Linked DNA regions of Homo sapiens: all the other regions are linked to region 1. Evidence: promoter capture Hi-C in 16 types of primary human blood cells and fetal thymus (Javierre and others, 2016). All regions are on one chromosome and are shown on one strand. Each heading gives the region's core, a stretch centred on a gene start or on the middle of the fragment in contact. The rest is flanking DNA. Distances are from core to core; before and after follow the strand shown. Region 1 overlaps BCL2L2-PABPN1 (BCL2L2-PABPN1 readthrough). Region 2 holds the start of TINF2 (TERF1 interacting nuclear factor 2). Region 3 holds the start of CHMP4A (charged multivesicular body protein 4A). Region 4 holds the start of IPO4 (importin 4). Region 5 holds the start of IRF9 (interferon regulatory factor 9).

Region 1 (2,533 bases), core at 11-2,510:
CACACCCATGGGATTCAGATCTGAAATGGTCATCTCAAGGCATCAACAGTCTCACTGAGACACAGTGTGGGACCCAGACTGTATTCTAGATCAGCACTTATGCCCACAACCTCAAAAGGAAAATTAGTTAGGGCCCCAATTTAGAGTTTCAGTTTGGGTACAGAGGTCCCAGAGATTGGAAACACTTTAGGCACCATTGTGCCTGAGTGGGAGAGGAGGGTGGCAGGCAGGTCCGGCTACCTAAGCCTCCACCCATCCAGGCTCAACAGCCCTGCCCTTCTATCAGAGCCCAGGAGGCAGCAGCAAGTGCATAATGCACAAGGAAGGGGGATGATGAAGGAACAAGGCCAGCTGCAGAACTGCTCTTCTCTCCAAAGCCTTGCCAATCACTTTCTGGAAAGAAGCAGCAGAGCCCTCGGTCTGGATACAATGTTTCTCTCTAAGCCTTGAGGCATCAGGACAAGGGCAGGGGAAAGGAGGGGTTGGGAGGAGGGACAGAGAACTGCCCCTAGTTCTTGCCATTGCAAGAGGGAATGTTTTCTCCTTGAGGAATCCCATCACCACCAGATTTGCCAGGCAGCCCAGCATGCACACCAGCATGCGTGCACATGCACACGCGTGTCCAAGCAGCCCACTGTTAACAGCCACCTCTCCCTATCACCTGAGAACCCCTAAGCTTCCATTCCAAAGGGATGTGCCTTCTGCGTTCCCTAAATCCCACTCATCTAATGGAATACAGCTGCTTATGTAAGTCCACCTTCCTCAGGGCTGTGAAGCAAGTTCCAGGTCGTTTCATGTGCCCACACCTATAGGCGTGATCCCTCCCACCTCCCCCAGCCCTGGAACGACTACATCTCCTGTGCCCCTAAACTTGCCAAAACATTCCCCTCCCCTCTGTGTCCTGCTCACTCTTCCAATCGCCTACCTGGCCTACTCAGCTCCCTCACACACTACCCTTTCTCTGCCCATCCTGTTCCATGCCCACCCATCCACCAACTCCACTTCTTCCAAGGGCATTTCTCTGTTCTGTTCCTGCTCTCCTGGCCCCCAGCCACACCTAGCCCCACCTGGCCCTGGACTTTCACTTGCTAGCAAAAAAGGCCCCTACAGTTACCAGGGCCCCCAGTGCCACGGCCCCCGTCAGCACTGTCCTCACTGATGCCCAGTTCCCCTCCCGCAGACGCCGCGCCTCCTCCAGGGCCCCGTCCCCGTATAGAGCTGTGAACTCCGCCTGTGGGAGAGAAGGGAAGCAGGAGAGAAAGAAGGAGAAAGGGATATCAGGAGAGGAAAGAGTGGAGAGAAGAGGAGAGGAAGAGTTCCAGTTCCATCCACTGCGAGCACTACCCCATACCCAGCTCCTCTCTGGCCAAAGCTCTTCTCCCTGCAAGCCCCTCTGATCCCCCCAGGTGCACCCCCACCCTGAGAGACTGGTTCATCTGCCCACTCTGCCTCCAGTGAATTCCATCCTTTCCTTGGCGAAAAATTCTGCTCAGAACTAGCATCCTTTGCCAAGGCTTGCCTGACCACCACCCATCCCTGGTCCTCCCCACCTCCCACGCCATGACTCAGATGTAAAAAGTCCCTGACAACATTCCCCTGCAGGCACTCCTTGGGTGTGTATTCTGTCCTCTGCTTGGGACCATGAGCCCATCCAGTGTTGACTGCATGGCAGCCCTGGAGTGCAGAGTCCAGGCATCTCTCAATCTAATTCCATCCAGACGGGGAGACTCAGCCCCGTACCTCATTCCCAACATAGCTGCCTCAGCCTCCAATCAGAGCCCCCATCTTCCCCCTGGAGACCAGCTTTGCAGAAGGATGTGCAGAGCGGCAATTGAGAAGCTTCTTACCCAGCCCCCACTGCTGTGGATCCAGTCAGCCAGCTGCGTCTCCAGGTAGGCCACCATCCACTCCTGCACTTGTCCCACCAGTGGTTCCATCTCCTTGTTGACACTCTCAGCACACAGTGCAGCCCCAAAGACAAAGAAGGCTACAAGGCGGCCCCAGTTGGGGCCCCCTTGAAAAAGTTCATCGGAGACCTGGGTGAAGCGTTGTTGGGCTGAGCCTGGGGTCACATGCAGCTGAGCCGCCAGATCAGAGAAGGTGCGCCGGAAGCGGGTCTCGAACTCATCTCCAGCTGCCCGCATGGCTTGGTGCAGCGGGTCAGCTGCTGGGCCCTCCCCGGGGCCAGCTCCACAGACATAACCCTTCTGCCTCAGCTTATAACCTACAAAGTCTGCCACCAGAGCCCGTGTGTCTGGGGCCGAGGCTGGGGTCGCCATCCGGGCGGCTATAAGAGGCAAGGATGAAAGACTGGCATGAATATATGAAGAGAGAATCAGAAGGAGCACTTCTGGTTTGACCAACCCAGTGAGATGAGGAGGAGAGAGGAAATGCTCAGGACTCACTGGACAGGGAGAGGCAAGAACAAGGGAATTAAGTCATGATATGAGACTAGGCTGTGAGTGGCTGGCCATTACATTCCTAATATGCCAAATTAAATGTAAAACAAGTAAATTTTCTGTTTAGGATACTT
Region 2 (2,533 bases), core at 34-2,533, 930 kb before region 1:
TGTAAGGTGGTCAAGGCAGGCAACTAATCCAGCCAACAATTAAGGAGTGTAAGCTGTGTGTTAGGTTCTGTGCTTGCTGATGGAAATGAGAGGCACCAGGAAGCCTGTGGAAGAGACAGTCAAGGAGAGCAGTCAATTACATTAGGGGGCTGACAAGTTCAGTGCACAACAGAATCCTAAAACAAGAAACTAATTTGTGTGTGTGTGTGAGACCCCGTCTCACTCTATCACTCAGGCTGGAGTGCAGTCACTGAAGCCTCAACCTCCCTGGCTCAAACAATCCTCCCAACTCAGCCTCCTGAGTAGCTGGGACTACAGGCGTGCCACTACGCCCGGCTAGTTTTTTTGATTTTCAGTAGAGACAGGTTATCGCCATGTGATCCAGTCTGGTCTGGAACTCCTGGGCTCAAGCGGATCGATCCTCCCCTCTCGGCCTCTCAGAGTGCTGGGATTACAGGTGTGAGTCACCGTGCCCCCAGCCTGTATTCTATTTCTTCTTCTTCCTCTTTTTTTTTTTTTTTTTTTCTTTGAGAGAGATTCTCCCTCTGTCGCCCAGGCTGGAATGCAGAGGCAAGATCGCGGCTCACTGCCACCTCCCGTCTACTGGGTTCAAGCGATTCTCCTGCCTCGGCCTCCCGAGTAGCTGGGATTACAGGCGCCTGCCACCACGCCCAGCTAATTTTTGTACTTTTAGCAGAGAAGGGGTTTCACCATGTCGCCCAGGCTTGTCTGGAGCTCCTGGGCTCAAGTGACCCTCCTGCCTCGGCCTCTCAAAGCGCTGGGATTAGACACAAGCCACCACGCCCAGCCTGTATTTTATTTTTTAAGGGCGGGCGCCCTCTTCTGTTTTATAAAAGGAACAGTCGAATTCCTACTGGAAGCGACGCGCGCAGAGGGGAAGGCTTTGTAGACGCCGGCTCGGGTCTGGAATTTAAAGAACTAAATTTCGATGGGTGAAGACAGTGGGAAAGGGCGGTGGCATGATCCTCGTTTTACAGACTAGGAAGTCGAGCCTCACGGGAGTGACGGGGCTTCTCCGCAGGCTCCGCGAAGAAAGCAAGGCTGGGAGGACCCAGACGAACGGCCACAACAGCCTCAGCGGCCACGACAGCCTCAGCCGCCAACTCATGTCAGCCGGCAGAGAGTGCAGGAAGCGGGCAGCTACAGCTCCGCTGGGGCGTGGCCTTCTGACGCACCGTCACGGTTCCCTCTGTGGCCGCCCATTGGCTCCCTCTTACCGCCCTTTTCCGGGGCAAGGGAAGCTAGTAGCGGAGCCGGAAGTGAGGCACCCTCGGGCTCGAGACAGCGGCGACGTTTAAAGCTGAGCGACCCAGTGCCACTGGAGACGGTCAGCTTCTCCACTCAGGCTCCTCCAGCCCGAGCCAGAAGACCCCCTCCCCCAGAATTCTGGGGGCCGATGGAAGGGAGCCGAGTCAGATCGCGAGGTACCCAGAGCCGACAGACCGGAGCGACAGGGAGTTGCCAGAAGCCCCGCCCCTAGGAGTGATCGGAAAGCCTCACCCATCCGGGTGAGGAACCCGGAGGGACCGCCTCCGGGCGGAGCCCGCCGACCATGGCTACGCCCCTGGTGGCGGGTCCCGCAGCTCTACGCTTCGCCGCCGCGGCTAGCTGGCAGGTTGTGCGCGGACGCTGCGTGGAACATTTTCCGCGAGTACTGGAGTTTCTGCGATCTCTGCGCGCTGTTGCCCCTGGCTTGGTTCGCTACCGGCACCACGAACGCCTTTGTATGGGCCTAAAGGCCAAGGTATTGGAGCAAGTAGGACCTGGAAGGGGAAAGAAAGAAAGGGGCGGGATGCGAGCACCTGACAAGGGCCCACAGCTTGGGGATGAGACTAGTTGGAAAAGGTCAGCTTGCCCCGAAGTGGGGATTCTGAATTCAGTACCGTACAGGTGGTGGTGGAGCTGATCCTGCAGGGCCGGCCTTGGGCCCAAGTCCTGAAAGCCCTGAATCACCACTTTCCAGAATCTGGACCTATAGTGCGGGATCCCAAGGCTGTGAGTAATCCCCGGAACAAGCCCTGACCCCAGTTACACTTGGTGCAGCAAAGTTGCTCCTCCTGTCTACTGGATGTTGGTGCTAACTTCTCTGTCTTCTGTATCCTCAACAGACAAAGCAGGATCTGAGGAAGATTTTGGAGGCACAGGAAACTTTTTACCAGCAGGTGAAGCAGCTGTCAGAGGCTCCTGTGGATTTGGCCTCGAAGCTGCAGGTGAGACTGGTTTGAAGGCTATTATGTGGCTATTTTCTCTAACCCATTTTTTTTTTTTTTTGAGGAATCTTGCTCTGTCGCCCAGGCTGGAGTGCAGTGGCACAATCTCGGCTCACTGCAACCTCTGCCTCCCGGGTTCAAGCGATTCTCCTGCCTCAGCCTCCCGAGTAGCTGGGATTACAAATGCCCAGCTAATTTTTGTATTTTAGTAGAGATGGGGTTTCACCATGTTGGCCAGGCTGGTCTCGAACTCCTGACCTCAAGTGATCCGCCCACCTCGGCCTCCCAAATGGCCAGGATTA
Region 3 (2,533 bases), core at 11-2,510, 900 kb before region 1:
ATGGAGTTAAACAGAGGCTGAGGATGCCTGTCCATCCCGGAAAAACAGCAAGTTGATTTCCCTGGTTATACTTACTAACTTTGCTTAATAAGTTAACGTAGCCCTGGCCCTTCACTTTGCTAATCCCATCTTTTACACCGTTTTGCAGGACAAGTGAGATAGAAGGGGCCAACCAGCTACTGGAGCTCTTTGACCTCTTCAGGTACTTTGTTCATCGGGAAATCTATCCAGGCAGCAAGATCACACACTTTGAGAGGTATGCGGAGATAAGGGAGGAGCAGGGTGAGAAAGTATCAGAGAGGCCTGGGAAACCAAGATACTAGCTTGGTTACTCCTGCCCTGTCTTGAATAGGTTGCAGCAGAAGACTGGAATTCCTTTCTCCCAGATGATCTTCTTTGATGATGAGAGGCGGAATATTGTAGACGTCAGCAAACTGGGTACTGAGTGATGAGGAACAGCCATTTGGGGTCCCTAGGAGGGATTAGGTAGATACATACAGGTTGGATAGTTTGCCCTATAGGTGGCACTCACAAAGGTCAGAGTAATAATGGAGAACCCTGAAAGCTTAATGAAATGTGACTTCTTATCTTTCTAGGTGTTACCTGCATTCACATCCAGAATGGAATGAATCTTCAAACTCTAAGTCAAGGGTTAGAGACATTTGCGAAGGCCCAAACTGGGCCTTTGAGGTCCAGCCTTGAGGAGAGCCCATTTGAGGCCTAAACTGAAAGGAAATCAAGAAGGCATTTTCAGGTGCATTTGTAATTTATTAAAGTTCATCTGTGTGTGACAGAAGAGATTTTACCCACAGTGTGGGGAGTTTCTATTTTTCTAGCCTGTGAAATGGGGTTGGTTGTCCTGAGGTGCAGAGACCAGAATGTGAGACATTAGACTGCATCAGGTTTGCCATCTAAACTTAGGGCAACCCCAAGTGCTTGAACCTATACCACCCCACTTTCCTGAGCTCTGTAAAGAGCATGAAGTTTTCCCACTGACCCCATACACTGAGGTGCCATCACACTGCACATTTCCTTCCGGAGAACAAGCACGTACTCAGGTGGAGATAGAACTGTCTTTTTACTTAATAGAAAATGATGTGGCAGCTTTAAGAGGAGCGCGTCGGTCTGGGGCTGGTGGCTTGGGTCACGTGACACCGGTGGTCTCGTTTGCGCCTCTTGATGTCGCGGCGGCGCCCTGAGGACGGATTGGGCAAGGCTGGTCCCTGTGTGATGAGACATCACCCTCCCAGGAGCAAGGCGGAAGTCTGGAGGACGCTGAGGGGCGGAGGCGGGAGAGGCGAGCTCGCGATGAGTGGTCTCGGCAGGCTCTTCGGGAAGGGTGAGCCAGGGTGGGACTGGCCAGCCAGGAGGCGCTGGCTGGTGCAGGGGAAGAGGAGACCCCGGCGAGATTCGGCCGGACCGCTGCGCCGGGCAGGGGAAGAGAATCAGGAGACAGGCTGACTGGAAAACCCCGGCGGCCGATGGCGGAGCAAGGCTCATCGCCGGTGCCAAAAGGCACACCATGTCGGGGCGCCTTGTTCCCGTCCGCCGTCCTCCCCCACTCTCAGAGGGAAGAACTCAAGATCTGGGAGGGGACTTGAGTTGAGGGCGTGGCGATCGTGCTGACTCCCACTGTTCAGGCTTGAAGACGAGTTTCCTGCTGTCTTCAGCCATTTTCAAAACCTTGTTCTATAATACTTTGTGCTGGGCAAGAGGGATCTAAGGTGAAGAAGAAAGACTGCCTTCTTAGCCCGGCGCGGGGGCTCACGCCTGTACTCGCAACACTTTGGGAGGCCGACGTGGGTGGATCATGAGGTCAGGAGTTTGAGATCAGCCTGGCCAATATGGTGAAACCCCGTCTCTACTAAAAATATAAAAATTGGCCGGGCGCGGTGGCTCACGCCTGTAATCCCAGCACTTTGGGAGGCCGAGGTGGGTGGATCACCTGAGGTCAAGAGTTCGAGACCAGCCTGGACAACATGGTGAAACCTTGTCTCTACTAAAAATACAAAAAAAAAAAAAAAATTAGCTGGTTGTGGTGGCACGCGCCTGTAGTCCCAGCTACTGGGGGAGGCTGAGACAGGTGAATCGCTTGAACCCAGGAGGCGGAGGTTGTAGTGAGCCAAGATTGCACCAATGCACTCCAGCCTTGGTGACAGAGGGAGACTCCATTCTCAAAAAAAAAAAAAAAAATTAGGTGGGCATGATGGTGTGTGCCTGTAGTCCCAGCTACTCAGGGAGGCTGAGGCAGGAGAATCACTTGAACCCGGGAGACGGAGGTTGCAATGAGCTGAGATCATGCCACTGCACTCTGGCCTGGGCAACAGAGCGAGACTCTGTCTCAAAAAAAGAAGTCCTGGCGCGGTGGCTCATGCCTGTAATCAAAACACTTTGGGAGGCCGAGGCGGGCAGATCACCTGAGGTTGGGAGTTCGACACCAGCCTGACCAACATGGAGAAAGCCTGTCTGTACTAAAAACACAAAAAATTAGCCAGGCATGGTGGCACATGCCTGTGATCCCAGCTATTTGGGA
Region 4 (2,533 bases), core at 26-2,525, 880 kb before region 1:
CTTTGTTGAATACCTCTTTGTGCCAGGCAAAGAATAAAGTGGAATAAAATGGACAAGATCCCTGCCCTCAATCTATTAGGGAAGATATTCTTGAAGTGAGAGCGGCTAATCATAGGCAAAAAATCCCCATGAAGCCAGGAGATCTGGGGCAGAGAGTGGAGTGAACTCACTTTTCACAATGACCCAGCAACATGGGAGAGGGTGGGGGCTGGATTTCAGCCCAGCCACTGTGCTGATGGTGCACAGCCCTTTAATGCTGTGTATCATCTCTTTTCTTCACAGTGCCATCTCTGTGGAGCTGTACTACATCTTTGCCACAGTATGGGGTCGGGAGCAGTACACTTTGTACGGCATCCTCTTCTTTGTCTTCGCCATCCTGCTGAGTGTGGGGGCTTGCATCTCCATTGCACTCACCTACTTCCAGTTGTCTGGGGAGGATTACCGCTGGTGGTGGCGATCTGTGCTGAGTGTTGGCTCCACCGGCCTCTTCATCTTCCTCTACTCAGTTTTCTATTATGCCCGGCGCTCCAACATGTCTGGGGCAGTACAGACAGTAGAGTTCTTCGGCTACTCCTTACTCACTGGTTATGTCTTCTTCCTCATGCTGGGCACCATCTCCTTTTTTTCTTCCCTAAAGTTCATCCGGTATATCTATGTTAACCTCAAGATGGACTGAGTTCTGTATGGCAGAACTATTGCTGTTCTCTCCCTTTCTTCATGCCCTGTTGAACTCTCCTACCAGCTTCTCTTCTGATTGACTGAATTGTGTGATGGCATTGTTGCCTTCCCTTTTGCCCTTTGGGCATTCCTTCCCCAGAGAGGGCCTGGAAATTATAAATCTCTATCACATAAGGATTATATATTTGAACTTTTTAAGTTGCCTTTAGTTTTGGTCCTGATTTTTCTTTTTACAATTACCAAAATAAAATTTATTAAGAAAAAGGCTCATGCAGTTGGAGGTTTTGGTCTGGATATAGGAACTCGAGCCCTGCTGTTAAGGGCACGGTCCTTTATAAAGCCGAGCTGGCCACTGAATGCCCGAAGCTCGAGTTCTCCAACCCAGCTTGGGAACTCCCGGCGTGGGGAACCTACATTGCCAGAGTCGGGTTTCCGCGATTCAGCCGGTGCTCAGCCTAACGGAAGTGGAGGAGCCGGACCTCTTTGTGGGAAGCGAATTGAATCACCTTGGCAACCCGCGGGGCGTGCAGCAACGCCCTTTCCTCCGGAAGTGGGTGTCAGAACCTCCACGTGCTGTCCCTCCCCCTCCCCTTTTCGGCCCAGTAGCGGCGGCTCAGTTGCTGCCATGGAGTCAGCCGGGCTAGAGCAGCTCCTACGGGAGCTGCTGCTACCGGACACCGAGCGCATCCGTCGGGTACGGAGCAGGCGTAACCGGGCCAGGGCGAGCGGGAGGTTGCGGGAAAGGCCCAACTCTCACCCCTAGCTTCCCCCCAGGCCACGGAACAGCTCCAGATCGTTCTTCGGGCCCCCGCCGCTTTGCCGGCTCTCTGCGACCTGCTAGCCTCGGCGGCCGACCCCCAGGTGAGACCCCTGACTCTCCCCTCCGAGCTTCCCACTGTACGCCACCGGTCAAGCCCCAGTATTCGCCCACTGCGGTCCGCTCAGCACCTTCCTGCCCGGACCCCCACGTGCTTGCTTCCTCGTCCTAGATCCGCCAGTTTGCGGCCGTGCTGACCCGCAGACGACTGAACACCCGCTGGCGACGGCTGGCGGCGGAGCAACGGGAGAGGTGGGCTGGGCCTGGGGTGGGGCGGGGCCAGGCGGAGACTTTTCTTGGGCAGGCTGGGTACCAAACACCTGCCACCTGTGTTCCAGCCTCAAGTCCCTGATCCTGACGGCCCTGCAGAGAGAAACAGAGTAAGTACCTACCCACTTCTCTCGGGATCTTGACGACTTTGTCTAGGTTTCTGCCTTCCTTTTCGGCTCCAGGCTGGGACTTGTGGGGCAGGGACTTCAGTTCTAGACGCAAGGTGGAGTGAGGATTTTAAGGCTGTTTTGAAGACTAAAGTTCTTGAGGAAGGGTGATGATGATCTGCCAAACCCAAGTCAGAAGAATAAGACTGAAATTCAGGCTAAGTTAGACTGAACTTACCAGATTACATGCCCACAGTGCTGTTGGGCTCCCTCTGAGCTGCTGTCTCATGTGTCCCAACTTGGCAAAGACCCTGTGCCCACACCTCCTGAAAGTTTCTGTCCTGGCTGCCCCATTGAGCCTGGCCACTGTGTGCAGAGGAAGGTATTGAAGGGTGATTGGAGGAGATCTCTCCTGTTTGCAGGCACTGTGTGAGCCTCAGCCTGGCCCAGCTCTCAGCCACCATTTTTCGAAAGGAAGGCTTGGAGGCCTGGCCACAGCTTTTGCAGCTGCTTCAGCACAGTACCCACAGCCCCCACAGCCCAGAGAGAGAGGTACCATCACATGGTTGGCAGGAGGGAGGGCCTGAGAGGCTGGATAGACCTTGTAAGCTTGCTCTCCCATCCTCTATTCTTGGACAGATGGGGCTTTTGCTGCTAAGTG
Region 5 (2,533 bases), core at 34-2,533, 850 kb before region 1:
TTACAGGCGTGAGCCACCGTGCCTGGCCAATATCCCTAAAATTTTTGAACAAGGCCTCCACATTTTCATTTTGTACTGGACTCTGCAAATGATGCAGCTAGTTTTCCTCTCCAATCTGTCCCTTATCTGAAACCCAGGCAGACGCAAGTGCTCGAGGATGAGTGTACCAGTGTGTATACACCATCCCACACACAGAGGAACAGTGGTTTCCAGGCCCTTTCACCTTGAAGAAGGCAGCATCCTGGTCCTCCCGGAAGTCCTGCTTGCCTGCATGTTTCCAGGGAATCCGGAACATGGTCTTAGCTGTATCATCCCAGCACACTCCGGGAAACTGCCCACTCTCCACTTGCTCCACCACCCAGTTCCGGAGTTTTCGGGTGCAGCGTGCCCTGCCTGATGCCATCCTGGGGGATAATAGGAGCAGGATGCATCAGAACTGACACTTTGGGAGGGAACATCTCCTGAGACCCTGGCCATTGAGACTAGATTCTGGCAACAGGTCCCAGAGATCCCATCCATCTTCTTTTAGCTCCAAACACATTTCAACACTCTATGGGACAGAATTGTTTCCTTTCTGCCATCACTAGCAGTGACAAACAACAACAACAACAACAAAACCCCCCAAAACATTGTTTTTAGCACTCTAAGCTGTGATACCTGGAAGGAAACCTTGGGCACTGGTCTTAATTTTAGGACTTTTCAGAGATGTATTGTTTACAAAAGAATTCCTTTGGTGATCGTTCCTGGTGACAGGCCCTGTCTAGATTCCCGAGCATCAGCAGAGGTAGGTTCTGCTGAGATCCATCAGGCTCTTCACCCACCGCCCCACAGCCTACACAACCTAGCCTGACCCCCACCCCCTGCCGGCCCCAGGAGTAGGTGGGGCAGGAAGTAGGGGTGGGGTTGGAGCTGCAGCAGAAGTGGGCAGGGCCAGATGGCAAGGAAACAAATGGTCCACTGAGGCTGGGGCCAGGAGCCTTCTTCCTTGAACAATCCAGCAGTAGGTCCTCCTGACCTTTGCCTACAAGGGTCTGGGGAGCTGGCCCTTGTCAGTCTCACTCTCAGGCTGAATCTCCCACTTCCTGACTTAAGAGATCTTCTGTCTATCCCTCAGTCTAACAGAGCGACCCCTAGGACCCCCTGCCCTCAATCTGGCTGGACTTTCTAGCCCTAGATCCCAGGCTGACTCCCATCCTTGGCTGATCTTACCTGAGTTGCTGTCCAGGCTGTCGCAGGGCTCAGACGACCTCAGCTTAACTCCTGGCTGGGCGGCTGATCTCTCCGCCCCTTTCTACAGTCCCCACCCTAAGTTTCAGTTCTCCTCCAGGGAGGGCCTTTTCCCAGAAATCACGTGGTCTGAGTTGCAGGGAACTGGCGGCCACTAGAGGGCAGCAGCATCTGAGCATCTCACTATCAGGATGCCACTGTCGCAGCAGGGGGGCCCTGCCCTGCTGGCTCAGCTCCAGCCTGGCTCATTCCCCTGCCTCCCTCAGATACTCTTGCTTCTATCTGACCTCTGGGTGACACCGTGGCTTCCCCAGGGAGGCCAGTTTCCTGGAGTCAGGCCTGGGACCTCTGGACTGCTGTGTACACCTGTGCATCTGCATTCCCCCACAGTGCCCACCTGATACATATTGGGTGACTTCAAATACCAGTCAAATTCTATGAAAGGAAAAAAGGAGGCAGGGAGGGAGGAAGCCCAGGCCAGGCTGCTGGATGGGGAGGGCCTCCCTTGACCATCCAGGGTGTCAACTCCTTCCTGGTCCTGAGTCCAGGGAGGGTCAGGCACTAGGTTGCAGGGGGCCCTTTTCAGCAAAGCTCTGTTCACCCCGCTCTTTCCCTGGTGCCCCTAGATGGTGGCACCAGGAAGAAGGACCACCAAGAAGCCTGGGTGGTAAGATGCCTCTTTATTGGTGCTGGAGCTGTTCCTGAGGGAGCAGGCCATGGGACCCTCATCGGGACCCTTGCCCTCAGCTACTTCCGCCTGCGGGGGATACTCTGTCCCAAGGGTACCTCTTCTGTCAGCTTCTGCAGAAGGAGAGAGAAGGTAATGATATTGGAAGCCTGGAGCTCAGACACAGTCAGCACCAGGTGACTTCTGTAGGGTGGGTTAAGAGATGAGGCTGGGTGGAGGCTATACCTGTAACAAGCGGGCCTGGTAAGCAGGGGGATCCTCTCCAGCCAAAGGCTGGGGGCGTACGTGCAGGTAGCGCTCAGTGGCCGTCTCCAGCTCTTCCACCTCATACAAGGTGGCTGGGTCCAGCGAGTGGGCATTGATGAGGCTCACAAGATACTCTTTGTAGTGTGCCCTGGGGAGAAAAGGGAGCAGAATATTTGTTGTGTTGGCTAATATTAACTGAGTGTGTCTAACATAGCTGGACTCTGAGACACCTGGACGAACAAGATTAACAACCCACCTGTGCCCACACTGCCTGCTACTATCTACCCATGCCCTTGCCCAGAAAGCCTCCTCCCTCCCACCCACTGCAAGACCTACTGCTCCCAAGGACCCATTTTACTGCCTGGGCATGCC

What was found. The method cuts DNA at HindIII sites, captures the fragments that hold promoters and counts their contacts. A CHiCAGO score of 5 or more calls a contact.
Region 2: a contact is called between the fragment with the promoter of TINF2 here and a fragment that was not itself captured in region 1, in 1 of 17 cell types (non-activated CD4 T cells). The highest score is 7.1, in non-activated CD4 T cells.
Region 3: the fragment with the promoter of CHMP4A here is called in contact with a fragment that was not itself captured in region 1 in 2 of 17 cell types (M1 macrophages and M2 macrophages); the score reaches 6.8 in M1 macrophages.
Region 4: a contact is called between the fragment with the promoter of IPO4 here and a fragment that was not itself captured in region 1, in 1 of 17 cell types (naive CD8 T cells). The highest score is 5.4, in naive CD8 T cells.
Region 5: the fragment with the promoter of IRF9 here is called in contact with a fragment that was not itself captured in region 1 in 1 of 17 cell types (M0 macrophages); the score reaches 6.3 in M0 macrophages.

Annotation. Positions count from the first base shown.
Region 1 is chr14:23,307,514-23,310,046 of GRCh38, reverse strand. It overlaps BCL2L2-PABPN1 (BCL2L2-PABPN1 readthrough), which reads right to left. Exons shown (of 8, transcript NM_001387346.1): 3 at 1,848-2,287. The coding sequence starts at 2,279. BCL2L2 (BCL2 like 2) reads right to left here. Exons shown (of 4, transcript NM_004050.5): 3 at 1,848-2,287; 4 at 1-1,231. The coding sequence starts at 2,279. The coding sequence ends at 1,082. Among named protein-coding and RNA genes, the nearest start is that of BCL2L2-PABPN1, 1.9 kb to the right of the region's middle. RefSeq lists an enhancer at 1,522-2,355. The HindIII fragment of the contact is 1,163 bases long and covers 679-1,841 here.
Region 2 is chr14:24,241,373-24,243,905 of GRCh38, reverse strand. TINF2 (TERF1 interacting nuclear factor 2) reads left to right here and starts at 1,283. Exons shown (of 9, transcript NM_001099274.3): 1 at 1,283-1,765; 2 at 1,912-2,016; 3 at 2,130-2,231. The coding sequence starts at 1,574. RefSeq lists a silencer at 349-643 and enhancers at 835-1,134, 1,305-1,564, 1,635-1,854, 2,515-2,533. The HindIII fragment of the contact is 13,864 bases long and covers 1-2,533 here.
Region 3 is chr14:24,212,215-24,214,747 of GRCh38, reverse strand. CHMP4A (charged multivesicular body protein 4A) reads left to right here and starts at 1,260. Exons shown (of 6, transcript NM_014169.5): 1 at 1,260-1,339. The coding sequence starts at 1,309. NEDD8-MDP1 (NEDD8-MDP1 readthrough) reads left to right here. Exons shown (of 7, transcript NM_001199823.3): 5 at 149-256; 6 at 353-438; 7 at 597-805. The coding sequence ends at 724. It overlaps MDP1 (magnesium dependent phosphatase 1), which reads left to right. Exons shown (of 6, transcript NM_138476.4): 4 at 149-256; 5 at 353-438; 6 at 597-805. The coding sequence ends at 724. RefSeq lists enhancers at 1,111-1,405, 1,042-1,541, 969-1,777, 1,732-1,851. The HindIII fragment of the contact is 5,751 bases long and covers 568-2,533 here.
Region 4 is chr14:24,187,558-24,190,090 of GRCh38, reverse strand. It overlaps IPO4 (importin 4), which reads left to right and starts at 1,275. Exons shown (of 30, transcript NM_024658.4): 1 at 1,275-1,372; 2 at 1,453-1,539; 3 at 1,668-1,747; 4 at 1,834-1,875; 5 at 2,295-2,424; 6 at 2,512-2,533. The coding sequence starts at 1,304. TM9SF1 (transmembrane 9 superfamily member 1) reads left to right here. Exons shown (of 6, transcript NM_006405.7): 6 at 283-942. The coding sequence ends at 676. RefSeq lists silencers at 1,704-1,823, 2,069-2,279. The HindIII fragment of the contact is 6,803 bases long and covers 1-2,483 here.
Region 5 is chr14:24,160,015-24,162,547 of GRCh38, reverse strand. IRF9 (interferon regulatory factor 9) reads right to left here and starts at 1,283. Exons shown (of 9, transcript NM_006084.5): 1 at 1,210-1,283; 2 at 224-404. The coding sequence starts at 403. It overlaps RNF31 (ring finger protein 31), which reads right to left. Exons shown (of 21, transcript NM_017999.5): 20 at 2,141-2,309; 21 at 1,893-2,028. The coding sequence ends at 1,975. RefSeq lists enhancers at 118-177, 1,167-1,556. The HindIII fragment of the contact is 4,395 bases long and covers 1-2,533 here.